Regions from separate parts of the Homo sapiens genome. Here all the other regions are linked to region 5. Evidence: promoter capture Hi-C in 16 types of primary human blood cells and fetal thymus (Javierre and others, 2016). All regions are on one chromosome and are shown on one strand. Each heading gives the region's core, a stretch centred on a gene start or on the middle of the fragment in contact. The rest is flanking DNA. Distances are from core to core; before and after follow the strand shown.

Evidence for each region. Contacts are between HindIII fragments. The CHiCAGO score rates a contact against its expected background, and 5 or more counts as called.
Region 1: a fragment that was not itself captured here is called in contact with the fragment with the promoter of PHKA2-AS1 in region 5 in 1 of 17 cell types (total B cells); the score reaches 5.0 in total B cells.
Region 2: a fragment that was not itself captured here is called in contact with the fragment with the promoter of PHKA2-AS1 in region 5 in 4 of 17 cell types (M2 macrophages, monocytes, megakaryocytes and 1 more); the score reaches 7.8 in M2 macrophages.
Region 3: a contact is called between a fragment that was not itself captured here and the fragment with the promoter of PHKA2-AS1 in region 5, in 1 of 17 cell types (M0 macrophages). The highest score is 5.1, in M0 macrophages.
Region 4: a fragment that was not itself captured here is called in contact with the fragment with the promoter of PHKA2-AS1 in region 5 in 1 of 17 cell types (M2 macrophages); the score reaches 5.3 in M2 macrophages.

What each region holds. Positions count from the first base shown.
Region 1 is chrX:18,479,545-18,483,294 of GRCh38, reverse strand. The region is part of intron 1 of CDKL5 (cyclin dependent kinase like 5); the gene reads right to left. Among named protein-coding and RNA genes, the nearest start is that of CDKL5, 56 kb to the right of the region's middle. The HindIII fragment of the contact is 2,546 bases long and covers 843-3,388 here.
Region 2 is chrX:18,420,436-18,424,198 of GRCh38, reverse strand. No RefSeq gene overlaps it. Among named protein-coding and RNA genes, the nearest start is that of CDKL5, 3.3 kb to the left of the region's middle. The HindIII fragment of the contact is 1,145 bases long and covers 1,172-2,316 here.
Region 3 is chrX:19,335,126-19,338,829 of GRCh38, reverse strand. No RefSeq gene overlaps it. Among named protein-coding and RNA genes, the nearest start is that of PDHA1, 6.9 kb to the left of the region's middle. The HindIII fragment of the contact is 404 bases long and covers 1,494-1,897 here.
Region 4 is chrX:18,376,780-18,380,662 of GRCh38, reverse strand. No RefSeq gene overlaps it. Among named protein-coding and RNA genes, the nearest start is that of SCML2, 24 kb to the right of the region's middle. The HindIII fragment of the contact is 6,947 bases long and covers 1-3,883 here.
Region 5 is chrX:18,888,382-18,891,957 of GRCh38, reverse strand. PHKA2-AS1 (PHKA2 antisense RNA 1) reads right to left here and starts at 1,662. Exons shown (of 3, transcript NR_029379.1): 1 at 1,330-1,662. The HindIII fragment of the contact is 28,066 bases long and covers 1-3,576 here.

The DNA of each region.
Region 1 (3,750 bases), core at 866-3,365, 410 kb after region 5:
AGTTATGTAGTCCCTTCAAGCCTATTTTCTCATTCATTAAGAAGAACTGATACCACCTACTTATAGGCTAATGAAGAGGATTCAAGATTATATAAAGCCTCTGATGCATAGAAGCCACATAATAGAGATTATTACTAATTAAAAGATAACACTAATGAAACACAATAGATGATGTAATAAGAAGGCCAATAACTTTAGAAAGAGGGATTTATTATATCATCTCAAAGAGCCTACATTTAAATGGATTCCCCAAATGAGACCAGTAATTTATGTCAATGCCCAAAAGAATAGATTCATGAAATGTCATTAACATTTTTAAAGCAATATTTTTATTAAGGAAAATAAAATATTTTAAAGCAAACAATTTTAGTCTTGCCAGTTCTGATGACAATTATATTATCTGCAAAGTAATGTTACTTTATCAAGTTGAACAATATCACTGAAAATTTTTCTACTCGGCCTCAACAATTTAGAACTATGCTAAATCTAGAACAACTTCTGAAATTGCATTGCACTATCATCATTATTGATCATTTATAGTTACGTAAGTAAAGATACCTTTCATTAACTGTATGAAATAGAACATCTTCTGTTGTGCCAAGAAAAAAAAAAAAAAACAAGAACTGACAAATTGAAGAACATCTAGATGCAGAATTGCTAAGGTATTTGTTTGAAGGAAATAAAAACATTTGAGTGGGAGGAAAAGCAAATGTGCTTCAATTACCTTTAGCCCTAAGAAGTTTCATGAAAGACATCACAGAAACAATACACACACAAAAGGGATGGTTACAGGACTATAAATGGAAGTAGTCTGCCAGGGCTATGAAAAATAAAATGAAGCTTCATTCTCAAAAGATAAAATACAAAGAGAAGAGGTGAGTTAGTGTCTAAATTCTAAAGAACTGTTGTTATAAATTAGTATCAAAGGATATAGAAAACAAGATGGGGCAATGAAGATTACTATTTAGAATACGTGAAATATATTTACCTAATGCTGTTTCCATAAGTAATACTTTATTCCAACAAAATTAAACCAAAGAAAAGCACTTCCAGAATGGCAGTGTGAGGTGGTCCATGTGGACCCTGGACCCTCTCCTCAGCAAAACAACCTTAACTGGTACAAAGGATACAAAAAAAGAAGGAAAGAGAAGAAACTATTTACAGTCTGCAGAAATTGCCCTAAGGACATGGGGCAAACGCAGCAATATTTAGTCAAGAAAATCTACTGAATCTTGGTAAAAAGACCAAGTTGGAAAAATTTGAACCAGGACTCACTTCCTTACATGCCCATTCCCTCTCCCTCACCCCCAGCTCTATGCCCAGTGAGTGTAGCCAAGACGAAAGTTTCTCCCCAGGAGCAGTAGGTTACCAGAATTTCACATCCCCTGCCACCCCTCGCAGCCTCTGTTTCATGTTGCAGGAACTATTCCGGTCAAGCAGAGCTACCTCCACCTAGCCTCATTTATAGGGCAGCACCTCTACCCCAGGCAAGGAAGGCTGAGAATACTGAAAATGGAACCAAATGGAAATTCTGGAATAGGAAAGTAAATAACCAAAATGAAAGATTCATTAGCACCCACCTAGCACCTAGATCCTGCTTTCTAATACCATTCTGTGATAAAAATAAACCAGGAGTCGGGCACAGTGGCTCATGTCTGTAATCCTAGCACTTTGGGAGACAGGCCGGGCAGATCACTTGAGCCCAAGAGTTCGAGACCAGCCTGGGCAACATGGTAAAACCCCTTCTCTACAAAAAAAAAAAAAAAATACAAAAATTAGCCAGGTGTGGTGGCCCGCACCTGTAGCCCCAGTTACTCTGGAGGCTGAGGTGGGAGGATCACCTGAGCCTAGGAGGTCAAGGCTGTGGTGAGCCGCGATCATGCAACTGCACTCCAGCCTGGGTGAGAGTGACGCCCTGCCTCAAAAGAAAGAAAGAAAGAAAGAAAGAAAGAAAGAAAGAAAGAAAGAAAGAAACCAGGACTCTTTGGTGAAATGGCTGAAACTAGGACTGGGGCATAAAAATGTACAAGATGAGCCTGGAGCATATTCTAGTGCCAGAAAATAAAGAAGTAGGTTTAAAAAAAAAGAGAGAGAGAGAAGGAGGAGGAGGAGGAGAAAGAGAGAAAGAAAAAAGAAGGCCAGGCGCAGTGGCTCACGCCTGTCATCCCAACACTTTGGGAGGCCGAGGCGGGTGGATCATCTGAGGTCAGGAGTTGGAGACCAGCCTGGCCAACATGGTGAAACCCCATCTCTATTAAAAATACAAAAATTTAGCCAGGCGTGGTGGCACACACCTGTAATCCAAGCTACTCAAGAGGCTGAGACAGGAGAATCGCTTGAACCCAGGAGGTGGAGGTTGCAGTGAGCGGAGATCACGCCACCGCACTCCAGCCTAGGGGATAGAACGAGACTTCCTCTCCAAAAAAAAAAAAAAAAAGGAAGAAAGAAGAGGAAGAGGAAGAAGAAGAAAGAAGAAAGGAAGAAGGAAGAAGAAGTGTGCTATGTCAAATCACACTAGTTAACTGAAGGGGCCCCCAGTAGCCAAAGCAGGGACAATTTTAGCAACAAAATAAAGTAGTACTACATTTGGATTATTAACCAAAGTATTAAAAAGAAATCCATGAGTCCATAATGATTTTTTAAATAAGTAAATGAGAGAGTCAGAGTTGACAAATCCCCTGTGCAGAAGAATTCTAAATAATTTATGTAAATACCCCATCTTCAATAAGGTGGAACATAACTCCATAGTCCTTAAATGTGGGCTGCACATAGTAACTTTCTTCCAAAGAGGACATTATGGAAAGGGAGAAAAAGAGTAGTTTTACAATGCAGAAACCTGACAAACACCGCCTCAGCCAGGTGATCAAGGTTAATTAACATCAATAGTGATAAGCATGTTGATAGTATGTCCCTTTGATACGATGTGATGAAAATGACACTTTACTTACGTGGTCTTCCTCCCAAAAACCTGCAACACCAGTCTAATCACAAGGAAAACATCAGACAAATCCCAACTGAGGGATACTCCACAAAACACCTAAGCAGTATTACTCAAAACTGTTCATCAAAAACACAGAAAGTCTGAGAATCTGTAACAGCCAAGAGGAGTCTAAGAAGATATGACAACTAAATGTAATGTGATATCCTACATGAGATCCTAGAGCAGAAAAAAAAAGACATTAGATTAAAACAGGAAATTTGAATAAAGTATGAACTTTGAATATCAGTAATCAATAATCACTAACAATATGGTTTATTAATTAGAATGAATGTATCATACCAATATAAGATGTTAATAATAGGGAAAACTACATGTGGGGTACATGGAAACTCTCCACTATCTTTGCAATGTTTCTGTAAACCAAAACCTATTCTAAATTATGAAGCTTATTTTTAAAAACTCACTAGAGGAGATGAATAGATTTCAGCTGGCAGAAGAATCAGTGAACTTGAAGACTGATTGATAGAGATTATGCAATCTGAAGAACACAGAAAAAAATGAAAAATGAACAGAACCTCAGAGAAAAATGGGATACCACTAAACATATCTATCTATCTCATCATCCCCTTTTGGTTGTTTCTCTGGAGAGCCTGGACTAATACACAACAACATACATGTAATGGGAATACCAGAGGAGAAGAAAGAACAGAAAAAAATACTTAAGAAATAGTGGCTGGCCGGGCGTGGTGGCTCACGTCTGTAATCCCAGCACTTTGGGAGGCCGAGGTGGGCGGAACACAAGGTCAAGA
Region 2 (3,763 bases), core at 495-2,994, 470 kb after region 5:
TGGAAGCATATTAGAAAATTTTACAGGTAGGAGCAATGAATTAGCAAAGAGGGAAAATGGAGTCAGAGGCAACAACAGAGGGCTTCGCAGAGTCTCCTGCCTCCTCCAGATGCAAAGTAACAGTGCTGTGACCTCTAGCTTCACCCACGTGGATCCAGAACTCCTGGGGCAATCACTCCATTTTCATCCCTGTATATCAGAGCCTTTGTACTAGGAATTTCAGCAGCATTACCTTTGACTCAAATGAATAATTTTTTAAAATTTTATTTAGACCTGGTGAACCGGAAGTAACAAATTAATTATCCGTATAGATTGAGAAGATGGAGAAAAAACAATAACTGAACATCTGTTAATATAGGTCCAATTTAGTATTAAGTAGTAATATTAGATGCCTTATAATGTGCCATCCCATATACACAAATATGACCTTCTGCTTAGGGACATTTGCTTTGATCTGGTTTTAAGTAGTGGTAAAGGATTTCTTGCAGTCACTTGCAGTTTAGTTAATTCGTCTTTTGGTCAAAAACTAACCTTTCTAGAAAGTTAGTAAAAGTTTAAAAAGTACCATGCGCCGGGAGCAGTGGCTCACGCCTGTAATCCCAGCACTTTGGGAGGCCAAGGCAGGTGGATCACCTGAGGTCAGAAGTTCGAGACCAGCCTGGCCAACATGGTGAAACCCCATCTCTACTAAAAATAGAAAAAAATTAGCCGGGAGTGGTGGCGTGCACCTGTAATCCCACCTACTCAGGAGGCTGAGGCAGGAGAATTGCTTGAACCCAGGAGGTCAAGGTTGCAGTGAACCGAGATGGTACCACTGCACTCCAGCCTGGGCTAGAGTAAGACTCTGTCTCCAAAAAAAAAAGTACCATGCTGCCATTTAACTGAGCACTTATGTAGAAAGAACACTAATACTAGCCAGTGAATGGATACCTGCTCTGTGCCAAGAACTTCACATAGATTTAGGGTTGCCAGATAAAATACAAGATGCCCCGTTAAATTTGAATTTCAGATAAACAACGAATAATTTTTAGTATAAATGTGTATTTTTATCCTGGATACATGTGGAACAAGGCTAGAAAACTAAATAAGGTTCTAACCATTGCCAAAAAAATTACGAAATGCCCTTCTAGGTCTAGACCTTGTAATGCAATCAGGATCTGGGAGAAAAGCTTAAGAACCAAATTAATGTATAAATTTGTAGTGTTTGTAGAAAGAGGTGAGCATACTTAGACTAAAATATTATTTGCTGTTTATCTCAAATTCAATTTTAACTGAGCATCTTCGATTTTTATTTGCTAAATCTGACACATTATCTCTAATCCTCTCAATTCTCTGCGAAATTCTCACCATTTTCCAGATGAAGAAACAGCTTGAGAACCTCCCCAGCATCGATTTGCTTTTTTGCCCTTCTAATAGAACCCCAACTCTGTTCAGGCATCCACCCGCTCCACACTACCCAGAGTCTCAGTCAATCAATGTGTGGCCTAATTACACTGAAGGAAAGAATTTAACATTTGATGGTTTGAAAGAGGTTTTCCCTGTCTACCCTGCTGGATGAACAAGGAAGCAAGTACGCTTGTTGCCACTGACAGTCATTTCGTGACTAAGAGGAAAACCAGCCCTAGGTCAAAGCCTACACACTAAATAAGGCAGAATCAAAAAATAGAAAAAAAAATTTTTAACTGGGTTCTTGATGACGTCACTGAGTTGTTTCATTAAACAAACTCTGCCCTTTCCTTGCATTTCAGACAGTTTGAGTCAGACTTTCTATTAGATGCCAGAGACGCATCCCACTACAGATGTCAGAACCTATGAGTGCTACTCATTACGGGTCTCAATAATCAATAAACAAGTGGTAATCAAGATGTAAGACATTTTTGGCTGAGCACGGTGGCTCACGCCTGTAATCCCAGCATTTTGGGAGGCCAAGGCAGGCGGATCATCTGACATCAGGAGTTTGAGACCAGCCTGACCAATATGATGAAACCCCGTCTCTACTAAAAATACAAAAATTAGCCGGGCATGGTGGCATGTGCCTGTAATCCCAGCTACTCGGGAGGCTGAGACAGGAGAATCGCTTGAACCCGGGAGGCGGAGGTTGCAGTGAGCCGAGATTGCGCCATTGCACTCCAGCCTGGGCAACAAGAACGAAACTCCATCTCAAAACAAAAAAAAAGTAAGACATTTTTATCCTTGATATATGTGGGACAAGTCTAGAAGACTAAACAAGCATTCTATTCATTGTCAAAAAAACATTTATGAAGTATCCATCTGGGCCTAGACCTCATAATGCAATCAGGATCTGGTAGAAAAGCTTAAGAATCCAATCAACACATAATTTTTTTTTTTTTTTGAGACAGGGTCTTGCTCGGTCACCCAGGCTGGAGTGCAGTGGCATGATCTCAGCTTACTACAACCTCTGCCTTCTGGGTTCAAGTGATTCTTTTGCCTCAGCCTCCCTAGTAGCTGGGACTACAGGCGCACGCCACCACACTCTGCTAATTTCTGTATTTTTAGTAGAGATGGGGTTTCACCATGTTGGCCAGGCTGGTTTTGACCTCAAGTGACCCGCCTGCCTCAGCCTCCCAAAGTGCTGGGATTACAGGCATGAGCCGCGGTGCCTGGCTCAGTGCATAAATTTATAGTGTTTGCAGGAAGAGGTGAGCATTAGTTATTCCTCGGCCCTGCTCAGAGCTTAAATCAAACCGTCAGATCTTACATGTTTTCATTTAAAGTTTATATCATTTGGAAAATTTTCATTTTGGAAATTTGAATCCAATTCCTCATTTGAAACAAAGCCTCTATCTTTGTCCTCCAGGCACTGAGTTTAACCAGGAACAGTGGGGAAAGAACAGAAATGTCAGCCTTAACACTTTAACCAATATTCTTCTGTACCTTGAGCAAACCTTACATTGCAATCATATCTTTTAAGACTCGGGCGTCAGATGGCCTGGGCTCAAATGCTAGCTCTAGTTATGTCCTTGGGCAAATTGCTCAACTTCTCTATGCCTCAGTTTCCTCCTCTGTAAAAATGGAGATGAAGCCGGGCGCGGTGACTCATGCCTGTAATCCCAGCACTTTGAGAGGCCAAGGTGGGTGGATCACTTGAGGTGTGGAGTTCGAGACCAGCCTGGCCAACACAGGGAAACCCCGTCTCTACTAAAAATACAAAAATTAGCTGGGCGTGGTGGTGAGTGTCTGTAATCCCAACTACTTGGGAGGCTGAGGCAGGAGAATTGCTTGAACCCGGGAGACAGAGATTGCAGTGAGCCTGAGATTGCACCACTGCACTCCAGCCTGGGCAAAAGAGTGAGACTCCGTCTCAAAAAAAATTGGAGATGATGAAGATGATAATAGTGCTTACTTCATAGGTTTAGGTGAGTGACTATTTGTGAAATACTTAGAAGAGTATCTGACCCATAGTAAGGACTTTATAAAGATTAGCTGTTACTGAGCAGGCTCAATTCCATGGGGTATAAATGAAGTGGTTTATTTTTCTCCAATCACTACTTTGAAACATGTTTTTATGGTAAATTTACCTTTCATGTCCCTTCATATCTTGGATACTTTTTTTTGACATTTAGGTGTTTTCTGCTATTAAAAATCAACCGTTTAAAACTCTAATCTTGTGTTTGATTTAAATCCCTTTCCCCACTTCCCACCATCATCACCTGTCAGGCTTGTGGCTCATGGCACCTAAAGTGACCAAAGTGACCAACATAAAGTGACCAGGGGATGTGATGGGCCCTTACTCCAGTTCCTT
Region 3 (3,704 bases), core at 446-2,945, 450 kb before region 5:
AGCCCAGGAATTTGAGACCAACCTAGCAAACGTGGTGAAACCCCATCTCTACAAAAAAGACAAAAATTATCTGGGCATAGTGGCAGGTGCCTGTAGTCCCAGCTACTTGGGAGGCTGAGATGGGAGGATGGCTTGAACCCGGGAGGTCGAAGCTGCAGTGAGCCACGATTGTGTCACTGCACTCCAGCCTGTGTGGCAAAGCAAGACCCTGTCTCAAAAAAAAAAAACAACAAACAACAACAACAATAAAAACCAACCAAACAAACAAACCCAGACATTGATTTATTATGGTTCTGGCTGTTGGGAAGTCCACGGTCAGGGCATTCAGTGTCTGGTGAGGGCCTTCTGGCTGAGTCCTCACATGGCAGAAGAGTGGAAGGGCAAAAAATTGCCTGGGGTGTTCCCTTCAACCTCTTCCATCAGGGTGCTAATTCCATTCAAAGGGGCCTGGGGGAGTGGGGCAGAGCTCCATCCTCATCATCTAATCACCTCCCAAAGGCCCCGCTTCCTGATACCCTCACATTGGAGGTTAAGTTTCAGTAGATGAATTTTAGGGGGCACATTCAGACCTCAGCACTGAGGAGGAGACCTTCTAGCTGTGGTCTGAGCGCTGAGCACGAGGTTGGCAATAGATTGTCCTGGTCCTGTTAGACCTCATTAAAGATTTAGACACTTTTCCTAAGAATAATGGGAAGCCAGAGAAGGATGTTCATGTCAGCTTTGCATTTTGTAAATATGGAAGATGAGCTGTGCCCTCTCATGACAGGATCCTAAAGGAAATTAATGGAAGGAGGTGCCATAGTGTGTTCAGGAGAGCACGGGGTTCCTGAATCTAAGATAGGTGAACCACAGTGAGTATGAGCATATCTTTCTATATGATTTTTAAAATAGAGACAGGGTCTCGCTATGTTGCCCAGGCAAGTCTCGAACTCCTGGGCTCAAGCGATCCTCCCACCTCAACCTCACAAAGTGCTGAAATCAAAGGCATGATCCACTGCACTCGGCCCATCATGTCTTTCTATTATCCAATGGAGATATGTGGAAAAATACATATTTTAATAGGGAAGATTTTAGGCACACACTGATGAGTCTGGCCTGAAGTTACTATCAATCATTTTCTGTGGCTGATCCCCAAACGGAAGCAGCCTTTGGAAACCTAAGAACTGTCCTACGGAGAGGCGGCCTAGCATCTGGACTCTGGCACCAGTCTGCCTGGTCTCAAATCCTGGCTCAACGACTTACCAGCTGTGTGACCTCGGGCAATTTGCCTAAACTCTCTGTGCTTCGGTTTCCTCGTCTTTAAATGGAGCATAATGACAACATTCATCTCATAGGGCTGGCTGTCATAAAGCTTATATGGATTAATATTTGTCAGGCACTTAAGACAGAGCCCCATCCTTAATGAGCACTATACTAGAATCTTGTGACTATAAGTAAATATGCAAATCTTTTCACTTCTTGGTGACCTGGGTCCTCACTGGTAAAGCAAAGCTTAGAAATTTCTATCTTCTGGCTTGGAGCAGTGGCTCACGCCTGTAATCCCAGCACTTTGGGAAGCTGAGGTGCCACTGACCCCTTCTTCCAAATGTATTATTTTGTCTCTTGTCTTTTATTCCCACGTTCAGTCCCCTTTGTTCAGTCCCCCTAGGTCCGTGCGGGTTACACTGAGCCAGGGAGGGTACACTTGAACCCAGGAGGCAGAGGTTGCAGTGAGCTGAGATCACGCCACTGCACTCCAGCCTGGGTGACAGAGTGAGACTTCGTCTCAAAAAAATATATATATATGCAGTTGGCTCAAAAGACTCTCAGGGCCGCCAGCCCTCGTGTGAATAGAGTCTAACCGTCTGACAAGCCACCTGTTTGGGTCTGCCTGGGATCAACACTTCATGAAGAAGCTTGTCACGGTTCCCAGAAGGAGAGAACAGGCCCTTGCCAAGCTTAAGGGAACAGGATGTATGGCACATTTTGTGCCTGCATAAATAAATGATCTGGATAGAATTCTGTCTATGACTTCTTTTTTTGTAGCATAATAGGTTATAGAGAAGGAAGGAGACAAAGAGCTTCATCTGCTTTAATTGTGGGACACAACCCTATTTATCCAACTGACATGGTGTCAAAGGGCCACATTCATTCACTCGTCCAACAGATATTTCAAGAGTGCCTATTCTAGGATGCAGGGCTATAAAAACCAGACAAAACCCTACATTGTAAAGTGACTTAGATCAGGTTGTAAAAACTGTTTTCAAAAGCAACTGGTAGATTTAATCAAAAGATATCCCGAGCTGCACACAGTGGCACATGCCTGTGGTCCCAGCTACTCAGGAGTCGGGAGGATCACTTGAGCACAGAGTTTGAGACCAGCCTGGGCAACATAGTGAGACCCCAACTCAAAAAAAAAAAAGGTATCCTGAGTTCTTTGGAAAGGCTCCAGAAAGCCAAGATTTCAAATCTCTACAGTTCTTCAAAGATGAAAGAATTGCGAAAATCATATAGGAAAGAACCCACTTATGTGGGCAACTAAAATTTAAGGAGTTGAGGACTTAGTAATTCTCAAAGTGCACCTCAGACAAGCAGCATCAACACAAACTGGGAAATCTGTTAGAAATGCACGTTCCCAGACCCCATCCCAAACCTCCTGAATAAGAAACTCTGGGAGTGGAAACCTGCAATCTTTGATTTAAAAAGTTCTCCGGGCTGGACACGTTGGCTCACGCCTGTAATCCCAGCATTTTGGGCGGCTGAGGTGGGAGGACTGCTTGAGGTCAGGCATTTGAGACCAGCCTGGCCAACATGGTGAAACCCCACTGCTACTAAAAATACAAAAATTAGTTGGGCGTGGTGGTGCACCTGTGGTCCCACCTACTTGGGAGGCTGAGGCAGGAGAATCGCTTGAGACTGGGAGGTTAAGACTGCAGTGAACTGTGATCACACCACTGCCCTCCAGCCTGGGTGCTAGAGCAAGACCCTGTCTCAGAAATAAAATAAAATAACAAGCTCTCCAGGTATTTTGGATGCCAAGTTTGAGGACCATAGATGTACTTTTTAACAAAGGACAATTCCGCCAGGTGGCATTCCAACATGAGAAATAACAAACAGATCTGTTCTGCAGTTTCAGAAAAATTCCACCAGGTGACTCACTAACCTGCGTACAGCCGTCCCCTTTATCCACGGTTTTGCTTTCTGCAGTTTCCGTTATCCACGGTCAACCTCTGCCAAAAATATTAAACAGAAAATTCTAGAAATAAACAATTCATGTTTAAAATTACATACTGTTCTGAGTAATGTGATGAAACCTCGCACCGTCCTGCTCTGTCCCGCCTAGGCTGTGAATCAGTACTTTGTCCACGGTATCCACACTGAATATGCTACCCCTCATTCGTCACTTAGCCATCTTGGTGATTAGATGGAAAAAGCCAGTATACAGAGAGCTTAGTACTATTCAAAAGTTTCAGGCATTCACTGGGGGACTTGGAACATATCCCCTGAAGATAAGGGTTGGCAGGGACCACTATAGTGGGAAAAACATATTTGTCCTGCAATTACGCGACAATTCTACCTGGTGGCACTCTAACCTGAGTAATAGGGAAGACCCTCATAAGCAATTGCAGGCAAATTCCATCAGGGGGCGATGTAATCAGAGTAATAAGAAAAACATATCTGTGTGCAATTACAAGAAAATGTTACTAGGTGGCACTCCAATCTCA
Region 4 (3,883 bases), core at 275-2,774, 510 kb after region 5:
TACATTAGCACCCCCCAAAAAGGAAATACTTAGGTATAAATCTAACCAAATATGTATGACATCTATATGAGGAAAAGTATAAAACTGATGAAAGAAATCAAATAATAACTCAATAAATGAAGAGATATACCATGTGCATGGACAGGAAAACTCAATATTATCAAGATGTCAGTTCTCCCCAATTTGATCTATAGATTCAACACAATCCTAATCAAATTCCCAGTCAGTTATTGTGTGGATATCAGCAAATTGCTTCTAAAGTTTATACGGAGGGGCAAAAGACCCAGAATAGCCACCACAATACTGAAGATCAGTGTTAGAGGACTGACACTACCTGACTTCAAGATCTACTAAAAAGCTACAGTAATCAAGACAGTGTGGTATTCGCATAAGAATAGACAAATAGATCAATGGAATGGAATAGAGAGCTCAGAAATTGACTCACACAAATATAGTCTACTCTTTTTTTTTTTTTTTTTTGAGACAGAGTCTCACTCTGTCGCCCAGGATGGAGTGCAGTGGTGTGATCTTGGCTCACTGCAACCTCCACCTCCCACGTTCAAGCAATTCTTGTGTCTCAGCCTCCCGAGTAGCTGGGATTACAGGCACGCACCACCACGCTCAGCTAATTTTTGTATTTTTAGTAGAGACAGGGTTTCCCCATGTTGGCCAGACTGGTCTTGAACTCCTTGACCTCAGGTGATCCACCCACCTTCACCTCCCAAAGTGCTGGGATTACAGATGGAGCCACCATGCCCGGCCCCCTAGGTTCTGACAAGTAGTCATCTTTACCTAAAACTCAGTTAACATGATTTGTTTTCATACTATTCATTCCTTTTGAAATTTTATTTAAAAAATTGATATATGATTCACCCCTGTAATCTCACATCTATAATCCCAGCACTTCGTGAGGCTGAGGCAGGTGGATCACCTGAGGTCAGGAGTTTGAGACCAGCCTGGCTAACATGGTGAAACCCCATCTCTACTAAAAATACAAAAATTAGCCTGGCGTGGTGGCAGCCACCTGTAATCCCAGCTACTTGGGAGGCCGAGGCAGGAGAATTGCTTGAACCCGAGAGGCAGAGGTTGCGGTGAGCTGAGATCTCGCCATTGCACTCTAGCCTGGGCAGTAGAGTGAGATTCTGTCTCAAAAAAAACAAAACAAAAAAACCACACAAAAACTTACAAAACATAACCTATGTACAAAAATGCATACTAAACATATGTACTTTTTATTTTAAAGGAAGAAACAATCTAATGTAAGTCACCTATGTCAACAAAACAGAATATTACAGAACTCCCCCACATGTAAGTAACCTCCTGGATCATGACTCTTAACCTCCTCCCCAGAGGTAACTCCTAACTCATAATAAATCCAGTTCTTGTTTTTCACATGTGTTTGTTTTTGTTTTACACTGAGGTGTGCATCCTGGATTTGAGTATTGTATGGATGGGATGGAGTCTTACCCTTTGGATTCGTTCTCTCTCTCTCTCCTTTTGCTGAACATTATGATTTTGAGGTATCATCCATGTCTCAATGTATAGTTGTGTATTTTCATTCTATAGAGTATTCATTCTATTGAACGAGTATGCCACAATTTAATTTGCGTTTTACTATAGATGGACTTCGGGTTTTCCATTTGGGGTTATTATAAATTATGCCGTTATGAAGTTTTTTTTGTTTTTTAGAGACAGGGTCTCGTTCTGTTGCCTAGGTGGGAGTGCAGTTGTGCTATCACAGCTCATTGTGGCCTCAACCTCCTGGGCTCAGGTGATCCTCCCTCAGCCTCCTGAGTAGCTCGGACTACAGGTATGTGACACCACACCCAGTTAATTTTTTGTATTTTTAAAATAGAGACAGAGTCTCCCTATGTTGCCCAGGCTGGTCTCGAACTCCTGGACTCAAGCGATCCACCCACCTTGGCCTCCCAAAGTGCTGGGATTACAGGCATGAGCCACTGCACCTGGAAAGATTCTTAAACACTTACCTTGATGTACAATGTGCATACACATGTTTCTCTGGGGCATAGACATAGGGTAGAACTGCCCACAGGCTATGCTCTCTTCAACTTTATTAGATAATGCCAAACTGAGCTCATATCCAGTTACTTGGGTGTGAGACTTCCAGGCAAAAAAGTTGTTTAAATTTTTTTTTTTTTTTTTTTAGAGACAGAGTGTTGCTCTGTCACTTAGGCTGGAATGCAGTGGCGCAATCTCAGCTTACTACAACCTCTGCCTCCCAGGTTCAAGCAATTCTCCTGCCTCAGCTTCCCAAGTAGCTGGGACTACAGGTGTGTGCCACCACACTCGGCTAATTTTTGTATTTTTTAGCAGAGATGGGGTTTCACTATATGCTGGCCAGGCTGGTCTCGAACTCCTGACCTCAGGTGATTTGCCTGCCTCAGCCTCCCAAAGTGCTGGGATTACAGGCATGAGCCACTGCACCTGGCCTAAAAAGTTGTTTAAAAAAGATAATGCCAAATTGTTTTCCAAAGTAGTTGTACTAATTTACACTCCCACCCGAGGCATATGACAGTTCCTATGCTCCACATTATCAGAACCTGATATTGTCAGTCTTTTCCCTACTTTGTAATACTGGAGCTGCACCTGCGCAACCTACATTTTGTGTTTTGGCAGCCGGCTCCATGTTATACTCTGCCAATAGGGGGCACTGAAGGACTTTTCTGCTTCCTGTTTGCTGCTTTGTTTCTCCTCACTGCTGGGACTCACTTGATGGGCGCAGTGTAGCACTGGCCCCGTGGCATTCCCTGTGCAGGCATCCGGTGAGTTTCCTCCTCACTGTGGTGATGGGTGGTGGCTTCCTGCAGAAGCTGCAAAATTCTTTTCTTTCCTTTTGTTTTTGTTTTGATACAGTCTCTCTCTGTCGCCCAGGCTGGAGTGCAGTGGTTTGATCATGGCTCACTGCAGCCTCGAACTCCTAGACTCAAGTGATCCTCCTGCCTCAACCTCCCAAAGTGCTGGGATTACAGGTGTGAGCCACCACATCCTGCCCAACATTTTTTTTTTTTTTTTTTTTAAGGCAGGGGCTTGCCCAGGCTGGAATGCAGTGGCCGATCATAGCTCACTGCAGCCTTGAACTCCCGGCTCAAGTGATCCTCCTGCCTCAGCCTCCCCAGTAGCTGGGACTGAAGACATGCACCACCACATCCAGCTAATTTTTAAATTTTTTTGCATGATGAGGGCTTACTATTTTGCCCGGGCTGGTCTCGAACTCCTGAGTTCAAGCAATCCTCCTGACTTGGCCCCCCAAGGAGCTGGGATTACAGGTGTGAGCCATCACTTCTGGCCTGCTTAACTCTCTAAATACTTTACCTACACCTGTTCCAGCATCTTATAGTCATATCCCAGTATTTAGTGGGGGCAGAATCAGGTAGTTATAAGTGGCTAGCTAGCCAGGAGGAAAGACTTGGTACTGATCCCTTCCTAGCTTGGGACAACTTTCTTTGGGGAGCTGGAGAGATAGTTTGGCTGGACAAATGAGGGGGCTCAGGGTCTAAGAGCAAATTACAGACAGAAATGGGATAGGTAATCCAGGATGAAGTAGCCAGCATGTCAATCAATCACAGTAGTCCTGTCACTGGAGTTGCCCAGGTTCTTGGCGTTTTGAACAAAGAATTGGACAAAACGCACAAACGAAGCAGTGAAAGAATGAAGCAACAAAAGGACAGATTTACTGAAACGAAAGTATGCTCCAGAATGGCAGCAGGCTCAAGCAAGTGGCTTGAGAGCACTGGTTACAGAATTTTCTGGGGTTTAAATAACCTCTAGAGGTTTCCCATTGGCTACTTGGTTATACCCTATGTAAATGAAGACTTGGCCAACGACTAGTCTGATTGGTCATGGGAGGCGAACAATCAGAGGC
Region 5 (3,576 bases), core at 413-2,912:
TCCATGCCGTTTCCATTTCTTCCAAACCATAATGCTCTCCCTTGCAGAGGTGCAGAGTAGTTAGGTAAAGGAAAATCCCCCGGAGTCTCTCCATATCTGCTACAGTGGGCTTACGCGTTTCTTGCATTTTGGGGGCAGATCCCAGAGACAAGGAGGGCGGCACATGAGCAGACATGGCACCAGGCCCCTGCCCCCTTGGGTCACCCTGTTCCCTCCCCATCCCACAACAGCCGCTGACCAGAGCAGCTCTTCCCTCACAAGCCAGTTTGCTCCCTTTGCCCCTGAGGCTCCACGGGCTGCAGCTTCCCAGGTCTGGGGGGTCGCATTTTCATAGCCTTTGCATGTGTGTGTGTCTTTAAGACATGCCCGACAGAAACAAGAGTCTTGGAGATGACACGTAATTCACCTGCCCCGTGGATCATTTCAAACAGATAACGTGGGAAAGGTATAAGAAGGTATAAGTCATGAAAGTTGTTCTTGGAAAAAGCTCAGGAAGAGTTAGAGCCCTCCAGAATGAGCCAGGTGCTAATTTAGAACAGTCACCTGCCTGCCAATGATGATGACGTGCTCAGCCACCAAGCTGCGGGCCGGGAGAGGAGCCGTAATAAGCGATTCCACCAAGCCTTCCAGCCACTCCTTTGAAACCTCTTTAAAATGAAATCCTGAAATAGGACCGCATTTCCACAGGCATCAAGCTGTCAGCTTCAAAGGAGAACAGGCTTCTGAGGCCTGGCCCCTTCAGCGCGCAGCTGAGGCCCCCCTCCCCGAGGAGAGGAGCAGATGTTTGAGGGCAGAGGGCCTGTCCTGACAGCACCTGCGTGGAGGTGGCAGGAGGGGATTGTTTCTAGGCCAGGCGAGAGGAGCCTGGCAGCCCCTGGAGCCTCGAGCCGGGGGTGGCGGGGGCAGGAACTTCTACCTCCCTGCTCAGAGCCAAGAAGTCAATTTGAACCTTTGCTGGGGCTCGGTATTAACACGTTCTGCCTTGGAGGGCAAGCCGGTGGGGCCAGGAATAAGCATTCCTTTTAACAACTTCAGTTGAAAAGCAGCCACCGCCCCACCCGCTGCTGTCCCTGGCTCTCATCAGGTGAATTCAGCATTCCTGCCACCCTGCCAGTGCCTCTGTGATCCTGGGCATGAGTTGACCACTATGTACCTCAGTTTACCCATCCACAAAAAATGCAAAAGGCCAGGACTAAGCATGGGGGCGTGACGTGAACTCCCGCTCCTCCTCTGGTCAAGGGCTTCATGCTTAGAGGAAACCAGATAAGCCCTATTGCAACCCCACCTGGAGTGGAGTGGGGGAGGATGAGGAGGAGGGGGAGACCCTACCTTCCACAGGCCCAGGGACTCGAGGGGTGGGGCTCCATTAGGAGATCAGTCGGGGCATGGTGAAGGGGAGGAGAGGTTGTCAAGGCTCAGCTGCCTGGACAGAGAGGATGGAAATACTCCCTGTGTGAAAAAAGAAAAGGAAAAGACCCCAGATCAGGAGGCAGGAAATGCAGTTTGGCAGAGTTGGTTGATGCCACTTACTTCTGGACAAGAAGACTGGAGGCTTGGCCACCCTTGATGGAAATTGCAGCAGAACCATCTCTCTATTCTGTTGATTCCCGCACCAGGCTGGCAAATAGCTTTTGTCTTTTCTGCTTCCTTGTTGCAAAAGGGTACAAAAGCCTCCCACCCACCCCACCCCCAATCGCCCTTTGTGCCATTATCTTTCAAGGTGACTTAGCTTTTGAAGTCCCTGCCATCTGCTCTGCAGGCCTGTACTTTGCAGGATGTGAGAGCACCGCGTTCCCAGAATGCCTTCTGTTCTACCCGACGTGGCTACTGATAGCTCTGCCTGTGAGGGGAAAAGAAAGCTGCGCTGTGGCCCCCTTAAAGCCCAGTCCCTGCTGTCTCCCTCAAAAAGCCACTTAGGAAAGCCACGGCCTTGAGGTACCAAGAGAGTTCTTTGAGAAATGAGAGTGGAAACTGTGAGAGAGGCTGCTCTGCAGTCGAGTGCTGGGCACGTCTGACGATGCCTGGGAGAGGAAAAAATTCCATCAAAAAACTACCATGGTTTTCTTTAGAGGAACATATGTGCACTTTTGGCAAAACATGCCTTCTCAGGAGAGCTGGAATAGTTGGAACCAATGAACTCTGAAGTCATGTGATTCGTCCCTCTGTCTTCGTGCAGTCCTTAAACTATTCTGAAAAATGCATGAATCCAACACGAATCCTAGCATTTCTGCCATGCCCACTGAGGGCCAGGCAGGCATACAGCCTGGTTGGGGGGTGGGAGGGTGAAAAGTATCTCTTTTTGTGCTTGAAGGCCCCTGAGGAAGCCCCTAGGCTCCCGTGGTGAGTGTTCCCTGCGCTGGCCTAGCAGGGTGTTGGTGTCTTGAGCCCGAATCCTGTGCAGCATTGGCCCAACCCTTGCAGGTGGCCGCCACCCCTTTCCCCTGCAGCTGGCATAGCCAAGGTGCCAGGCTCTGCAAAGGGTAAGCTGCATCTGAATTGGGCACGAGGGGATGGTTGTGCCTTCCACATCTCCTTTTGTGAAAGATCTTCCCAGATGCAAACCCAGGATGGACTTGCCAAAGAGAAATCCCAGTAACTGGCTCTAATCTCTGTGCCACCAGCTGCCATTGTCTCGAAGTTCATTTGCAAACAACAGAAACCAACTGTGGCTGGGTTAAGTGGGAAGTTTATTAAACAATATTGGATAGGTCACATGGTCACCAGGCTAAGCGGCTCCCTAGCCAGGACCAAGATCCCATGTCATTCTCCAGTACTCCCAGGTTCATACCCCAGGACTTACACCACAGACACCCCCAATGCTGGGCACTGTCACTGGGACCACTGCCTCTGCTCTTTTGGAAACTAAATGTAGAGGCTTCTACTTGTCACCAAAAGGGATTTTAAACAGCCACTAGCTGCCACTTCAAGGTCTCAGGCAAGCATACTGCCTCGGCTGAGGGAGAGGTTAGAAAAAACAGCATCCAGCCAGGCGTAGTGGCTTGTGCCTGTAATCCTGGCGCTTTGGGAGGCCTAGGCAGGAGGTCTCGAGCCCAGGAGCTAGAGACCAGCCTAGGCAACAATGTGAAACCCTCCCTACAAAAAATAAAATCAGCAAGGCACAGTGGTATACACCTGTTTTCCCAGCTACTCAAGAGGCTGAGGTGGGAGGATCACTTAAGCCTGGGAAGTCAAGGCTGCAGTGAACCGTGATTGCACCACTGCACTCCAGCCTGGGTGACAGAACAAGACCCTGTCTCAAAGAAAAGAAAAAAGCCGCATCTTGAGAATTCTGCCTTCCAAAGTGGAGGTCCCCACTTCATAACATGGGGATCCCCTGAACACAGGAAGGAGGTTCAAATGCCAAACATCTGAAACTCAGTGTCCGCTCCAGCTGGAATGCTTGCTTTTCTTTCCTCTGCCCATAAAAGAAGGACCTGTGCCCTCGCCAGGGTCTGCCCTGGAGAGCTGACGCAAGAGGCACATTTGCCCCTGAGGAAGGCTGTGTGTCAGGAGTGAAGAGGGGCGTGCAGGCAACCCCTCCTCACCCCAGGTGCATGGAAGCCATCCTGGTACCCA